2 separate regions of the Homo sapiens genome follow, and region 2 is linked to region 1. The links are contacts of gene promoters, found by promoter capture Hi-C in blood cells and fetal thymus (Javierre and others, 2016). All regions are on one chromosome and are shown on one strand. Each heading gives the region's core, a stretch centred on a gene start or on the middle of the fragment in contact. The rest is flanking DNA. Distances are from core to core; before and after follow the strand shown.

Evidence for each region. Contacts are between HindIII fragments. The CHiCAGO score rates a contact against its expected background, and 5 or more counts as called.
Region 2: a fragment that was not itself captured here is called in contact with the fragment with the promoter of MRPS9-AS1 in region 1 in 11 of 17 cell types (total B cells, naive B cells, M2 macrophages and 8 more); the score reaches 9.7 in total B cells.

Annotation. Positions count from the first base shown.
Region 1 is chr2:105,101,308-105,104,496 of GRCh38, reverse strand. MRPS9-AS1 (MRPS9 antisense RNA 1) reads left to right here and starts at 1,553. Exons shown (of 4, transcript NR_110227.1): 1 at 1,553-1,661. LOC105373527 (a long non-coding RNA gene) reads right to left here and starts at 2,740. Exons shown (of 3, transcript XR_923138.3): 1 at 1-2,740. RefSeq lists enhancers at 1-135, 136-997. The HindIII fragment of the contact is 13,539 bases long and covers 1-3,189 here.
Region 2 is chr2:105,221,841-105,225,029 of GRCh38, reverse strand. No RefSeq gene overlaps it. Among named protein-coding and RNA genes, the nearest start is that of GPR45, 18 kb to the left of the region's middle. The HindIII fragment of the contact is 3,786 bases long and covers 1-3,189 here.

The DNA.
Region 1 (3,189 bases), core at 304-2,803:
TCACATTGCCCGGAATGCTTTCCTCCAATCGTATGGCCCACTGACTGTCCTCATAATGATCCCAGCTTGATGGAGTGGTTATGACATCGCCTTCCTGAATAAGATGAGGGTTCTAGCTTGGTTGGAGAGCATAGTATAGTGCTTACTAATCAACACCCATCCATTAGGATCTGGCTGACATCCACCTCTCCCATCAAGTCTTCTGACTGTACCAATGCAGTCTTCTCTCCTTTCACAGACGGTTTTAGCACAGGCTGTGTGCCTGGCTTGCATGCCGTCATAGCCCGCCTGGTATTCTTCCACAGTGGTTCAGAGCACTGGCTCTGGAGCCGGGATTCTAGGTTCCAACCTGGCTTGGGCACTCACTAGCTCTAGGACTTTGGGCAAGTTATTGAACCTCTCTGAGCACTAATTTTCTCAATATCTACCTCATAGGGTTGGCTGAGAGGATCGAATGCGTTACTTGTATTTAGAACAGTATCTGGAACAGAATAGGAGCTACAGAAGCATTAGCTCTCACTGTCGCCTTAAGGCAATAATCTTGTCAAATGCCTATTAAAAAAAAATAGCCACTAGAGAGCTCTTCCCAATGTATGCACACAGTGTGTGTCAAAAATACTTCCCAACAGGTATTTCCCACAAAGGTGTGGGATGTCTGAGAAGCTCAGTGCTCCTGTGGTTAACAAACCTGGTGACAAAGGAGACTGTGTCAAGCCTGAACAAAGGAACAAGAGCTCCGATATACTTTAATCCTCTTCCCTGGAGGCCTCACATCAACACTGTCCACAGTCTAGTTCCTATTACAGCTGGAATGGAGCAGATGGCCGGTGGTTTTACACTTATCTTACTTGATCGTCACACAAGGGCAGATGGGGCTGGTAGGGCAGAAAATGACCCCAATTTGACTCAAAGAAATTGAGACTCAAGGGGTACAGTGGCCTGCGAGGTTACAAGCCAGTATTTCTTCCAGACCTCACGGGGAAAGGCACCTGTAACATTCGCCTCTCCTGGAGGCCGCTTCTTGGTCATCACTGACGTCCCTGACCGCTGTGCCTGGCTTGCTGTCTTCCTATCACCGCTCACCACCCCCTTTGCTGGCTCTTCCCTCCTTCCTACTTTAAACTTGATGGCTGTTTCTCCACTTGAGCCTTGGCCTTCTCCCTGCCCAATCCTCCGTGCTGATCCAGCCCACGTTTCAAATTCCCCTTCCACGCAGCAGCCTCCCAAATCTGTCAGCAGGCTGACCCGTCGCCTGAGTCACAGTCCAATTATTTCAAGCATCTCATATGAGGTGGCCCCGAACACCTGAAACCCGAGCCGACCCCTCTGGTGTCTCCTCCTCCTCCCATCAACTTTTCTTCCTGTCTTCCTGGCTCTTTGCATTCCCAGCAGCCTGTGGATCTCATACCGAATACCCGCCCCCAGCTCTCCTGCAGCCAATCAGCTATCGCACTTGGTCCAGGTGAGAGTGGCAACGTTTCTCACACCTACTTCCTTTCTGTTCCCTGCACTGGGTCCCATCCCCTCCATGTACAATAGCTGCCTGGCAGGTCTCTTCCTTCTAGCAACTCCCTGCTCCTGCAGTCCCTCCGTGACCTTCCTGATGGGGAGATCCTCAAGACTTTTCCCATGAGCTCGGGGTTCCTGAGGCCCAGAAGAAGGTGAGAGTTAAGGCTCCGATTTTGTTGTTATATTATGCACTATGACTCTACTTAATATATATATACATATATTTTAAAGGTTGCTAAAATATAGTTTAAAAACACAGTTCTAATTTCAACCCTCATCTGTTCTCTCAAAGGAGAAAAAAAGGCTGATTCCCCTTTGGCAGTGCAGGAACATCACCATGAATTTCAGACCCTCCACAAATCCACCTCAGCCTCCTTCCCAGCTGGTTTCCGCAGGGACCTCGTCCCTCCCCAGCAATGCCCTGGCCCGCCTGGCTTCACTCCCTGCACATTTCCTGAACTTTCCTTCCTCCTTTCTCGCCATTTTCTCCATCTGTACTCCCACCCTCTCCTTTCATGGCCTCTTTTTTCCCCACCACCTCCTCCTCAGAGTGCTACTGTCCTCAGGGCCCCCTTCCTCAGCTCTCCTCCTGGCACTGTACGAGCAGCACTCCAGGTCTCCCGTTAGACTTGAGGACTTTGTCTCCTCCACGATACCAACAGTAGCTGATGCAGGGCCAGATGGCATATACTTCAGGCAGCTCTGCACTGCCCCAGGACACCAGGTATGGCAAGAGCTCAGCAAGCGGGCGATCCGTGCCGGCAGGGCTGCCCGCCATCCCATCTCAGCACACCCACGCCACGTGGGGTAACCACTTGTCACTTCTCTCTTGTCAAAATGGTAAAAAGTATACTCCAACAGATACAGGCTAAATCAACACCACCGACCAAAACCTGCCACAGACAATTTCACTAGAGAATGACCGCCACACAGAAAAAACCCCAGAAAGTATTTTCTACAGTTTCATCTGAAATGAAAAGGGCACTGGGTACCGCAGGGTACTGGGTACTCACTCTCACTTGTTCATCACCATGTTATTTTATTTTACCTCATAAAGGATTTGATGTGTATATACATGTCTCAGAACTTATTCAAGATTATTTTAAAAAGACACTTATGAAGAAATCAGTGGCATACAACTCTTTATATAAAGGATAATTGAGCATTGAGGGTCTAATTCTTGAAGCAATATTTTTACTTAAAATAACTGCATTGAAATGGATTTTTTTTTTTTTTTTTTGAGACAGGATCTGACTGTTACCCAGGCTGGAGTGCAGTGGCACAATCTCGACTTACTGCAGCCTCTGCCTCCTGGGTTCCAGCGATTCTCCCACCTCAGCCTCCCGAGTAGCTGGCACTATTGGCGCATGCCACCACACCCGGCTAATTTTTGTATTTTTTGGTAGAGATGGGGTTTCACCATGTTGGCCAGGCTGGTCTCAAACTCCTGGCCTCAAGTGATCCACCTGCCTCAGCCTCCCAAAGTGCTGGGATTACAGGCGTGAGCCACCACACCTGGCTTAAAATGGGTTTTAAAGTACCCCTGTTACCAACTGCCCCTTTCCTCCCTCAAAAACCTACTGCACAATTGCATTAGAGTTAAAATGCCAAAGTTTCTTCATTTTAAGGTACTTTAGAAATCCTAGAGCAAAACTCAATTGAACGCTTAGCTATGACTGA
Region 2 (3,189 bases), core at 396-2,895, 120 kb before region 1:
CCCCAGCACCCACCTGAGTGATTCTGCAATGCCCCATGACAGAGAACCCCTGGGCTGCGTCATTGCCACAGTTCCCTTTGTTTAGCTTATTTTCAGTCTGTGTGGACGCAGCACATCTGAGAAACAACAGCCTGAGTGATGGGAAAACAGCAGCACGAGGAGGAGGAGGGTTTTGGGAATGAGGTATTTTTTCCTAAGGAGGAGTGAAAAGGGGGGTTAAATCCAGCGTCAGCTGCACTTTGGAATTATCAGGAACCCTAAAGCTGCCTGGCGCTTGTGCCTCTCCCTGGAGTGGCATAACTGGTGGGAGGCGAGGCCAGGGCATTCGGATCTTTATATCCCTTCTAGCAATTCCTCTGGACAGCCAGGGGTGAGAACCTGTGACACAGGATATCATGCGGTGAAGGGCGAAGCCTTGGAAGAAAAGAGCGGACTTAGCAGTTACGGAGAGAGGAGATTCAGGGCAGTGGGGAGGGGCTAGAGAGAGCATCTTAGCTTGATGTTCTGACATTTGAGGCTTTACTGGTCCTAGAAGGAGTGCCCTTCCCAGGGCTAGCCAATTCTTAGCGATAGCAAACACAGGATGCACCCATGGGTGTGCCTTTCTTTTTCTTTATTTTTTCTTTTTCTTTTTTTCTTGTTTTTGAGACGGAGTTTCGCTCTTGTTGCCCAGGCTGGAATGTAATGGCACAATCTTGGATCACTGCAACGTCGGCCTCCCGGGCTCAAGGATTCTTCTTCCTCAGCCTTCCGAGTAGCTGGGATTACTGGCGCGCACCACCACGCCCAGCTATTTTTTTTTTTTGTATTTTGAGTAAAGACAGGATTTCACCATGTTGACCAGGCTGGTCTCCAACTCCTGACCTCAGGTGATCCACCCGCCTCGTCCTCCCAAAGTGCTGGGATTACAGGCGTGAGCCACCGCGCCCGGCCGGTGTGCCTTTCATCTGCCAACCAAACAATCCAGCGCCCACACTCCAAGCACCTCCGCTGTAGGGCTCTCACGCTCCCGGCCACTATCCTCTGCCCCAATCACTCCAGGGCAGATACCAGACAACCTAGGGCGTATGCGCCCGAGCTCACAGAAATTCAAACTAGCCTATCCTTGGCCTGCCTCGCCTTTCTCAAGGAAACCACAATGAAGGCTCCTGCCATGTTTTGCCCCTTCCCCGCTTCCCCGGATTGGCCCTGGTGCTCTCCCGTGTGGCCCTGTGTGGCGTGGCATGCCCCCTTGTTTTGGGAACTGTGAACAATAAACTCTTTTCAATGGCAGTCATTCCCTGATCTGTCAGCCTCACCATACCTGAATAATAATAAAACCTGCATTTTAAAACAGGGAGATGTAAGCCGAGGTGGAAGAGGAGACGTCAAAAAGTAAAGTATTTTTGAAAGGTGGAGGGTGTGGGTGGGAGAAATGCAGCAGGCTGGCTAGGCGCAGAGGGTCAAGGGAAGGTTTTGTGTTTTCTAAAGTCATAATACCTGTTTCACAGGGATATCGAAGACTTGGATTTACATTTACATTAAACAAAAAACAAACAAACAAAAAAAACACAACAAGACTTCATTAAAAGAGATCTTACCCTGCCAGGAATGTGTTCACCCTGCCACCCGGCTGTGGTTTCCATGGGCTGCATGGGGCAGGGACGTGGAAGAGGAGAGTCTGAGACAAGGGCAGGGGCCCAGCTCACTGTGCGGGAGCTTTGGAAATGATAACCAGAAAGCATAAAGCGTACCCTTGCCTTGACCCACCAAGATTAATGAGAATATTGTGGTGTAAGCACATTATTTCCTGAACAAAAGTTTTTTTTTAACTTAAAAAAACTGTGGTAAAAGGCATATAAGATAAAATTTAGTGCATTACCCACCTGTAAGTGTACAGTCCAGTAGTAAGTACATCCACACTGGTGCGCAAACAATCTCCAGAGCTTTTTCATCTTGCAAAACAGAAATTGTACCCATTAAACTCGAATTCCCTATTCTGCCCTCCTCCAGCCCCTAGTAACCACCAGTCTACTTTGTTTCCATGAATTTGACTACTCTAAGTCTCTCATATAAGCACATTCTTTTCTCTTAGCACATATTTATATTCTGGTAGCAGAGGGCTGGGAGGGGGAAGGGAAGCATAAGAGGAGGGAGGACACATGATGGTAAATCTGAATGAAGCTGATGATGGTATTAGCCACGGTTTGCTGAGAGCCTCATCTAGGCCAAATATTAGCATAATAGACTGTCAAATTTTAACTTTTACCACAAACCCAGAGGTAGGGGTTATTTCTACTTAGAGATTGCATAGCTCGTCTGCCCAGGATGGCAGGGTGGCTATGGGGCAGTCCTTGAAGGTCTAACTCTAATACTGTTCCATCCTTTCATTCCTGGGCTGGGGTGGGGGCCGGAGGGACATCTAGAATGTGACAGTGCCTCTCTGCCCTGGCGTACTGTCATGGTGCAGCATAGCTATTCAGGAGGCATCTGCCTGAATCTTTGAGGGGTGGGATCTGGTGTGGGTGTCTGCTGTAGAGTACAGCCACCAACCTGTCTTGGGGCACATGGAGCCAAGGGCCGGAGCTAGAGAAATGCCTGCTTATGCTCAGTCAAGTTCTTGTTCAGGAGAAACTATGTAAATAGGAAGTTACATTTCAAAGAAATCCCATCAGACCAATAGTAATTACTGCTTGTAAATCAATTGTCAGTTATCGTGTTCAATAAATATGGTTCCTCCAAGCATCTGAAACAATTTGTTCATAATTGTTTAATTTACAAAACAAATATCATTTCTTTGTCACCTTAAATGAATTGACTTAGAAATTCCATTCTAGGAATTGGTTCTAGGAAAACAATTATTGACATTTACAAAGATTTAGCTACAGGGATGCTTTATGCCTATAAAAGAGAGAAGTTGCAAACTCATTCAAAATTCAATGACAGCAAGTTGGTTAGGAGGAGAGGTGATATAGCACTTAGGATAAATGTTAACTCTGCTCTTTGTGAGTCTTTATGAACCTGGGCCAGTTCCTTACCCTTGGTCCCTCATCTGAAAATGGGCATCTTGAGATTCCCTTTCTCAGCGTTATGGGGAAGAGCCCTGCGGTGGCTAGAATATGGTAAGCACTAGGTACAGGCTAGATTTTTAATCCTTCTGCCTGGCCATATAATGTCTAAAACAAAATTGTCTTAGGCACCAGAAACCAC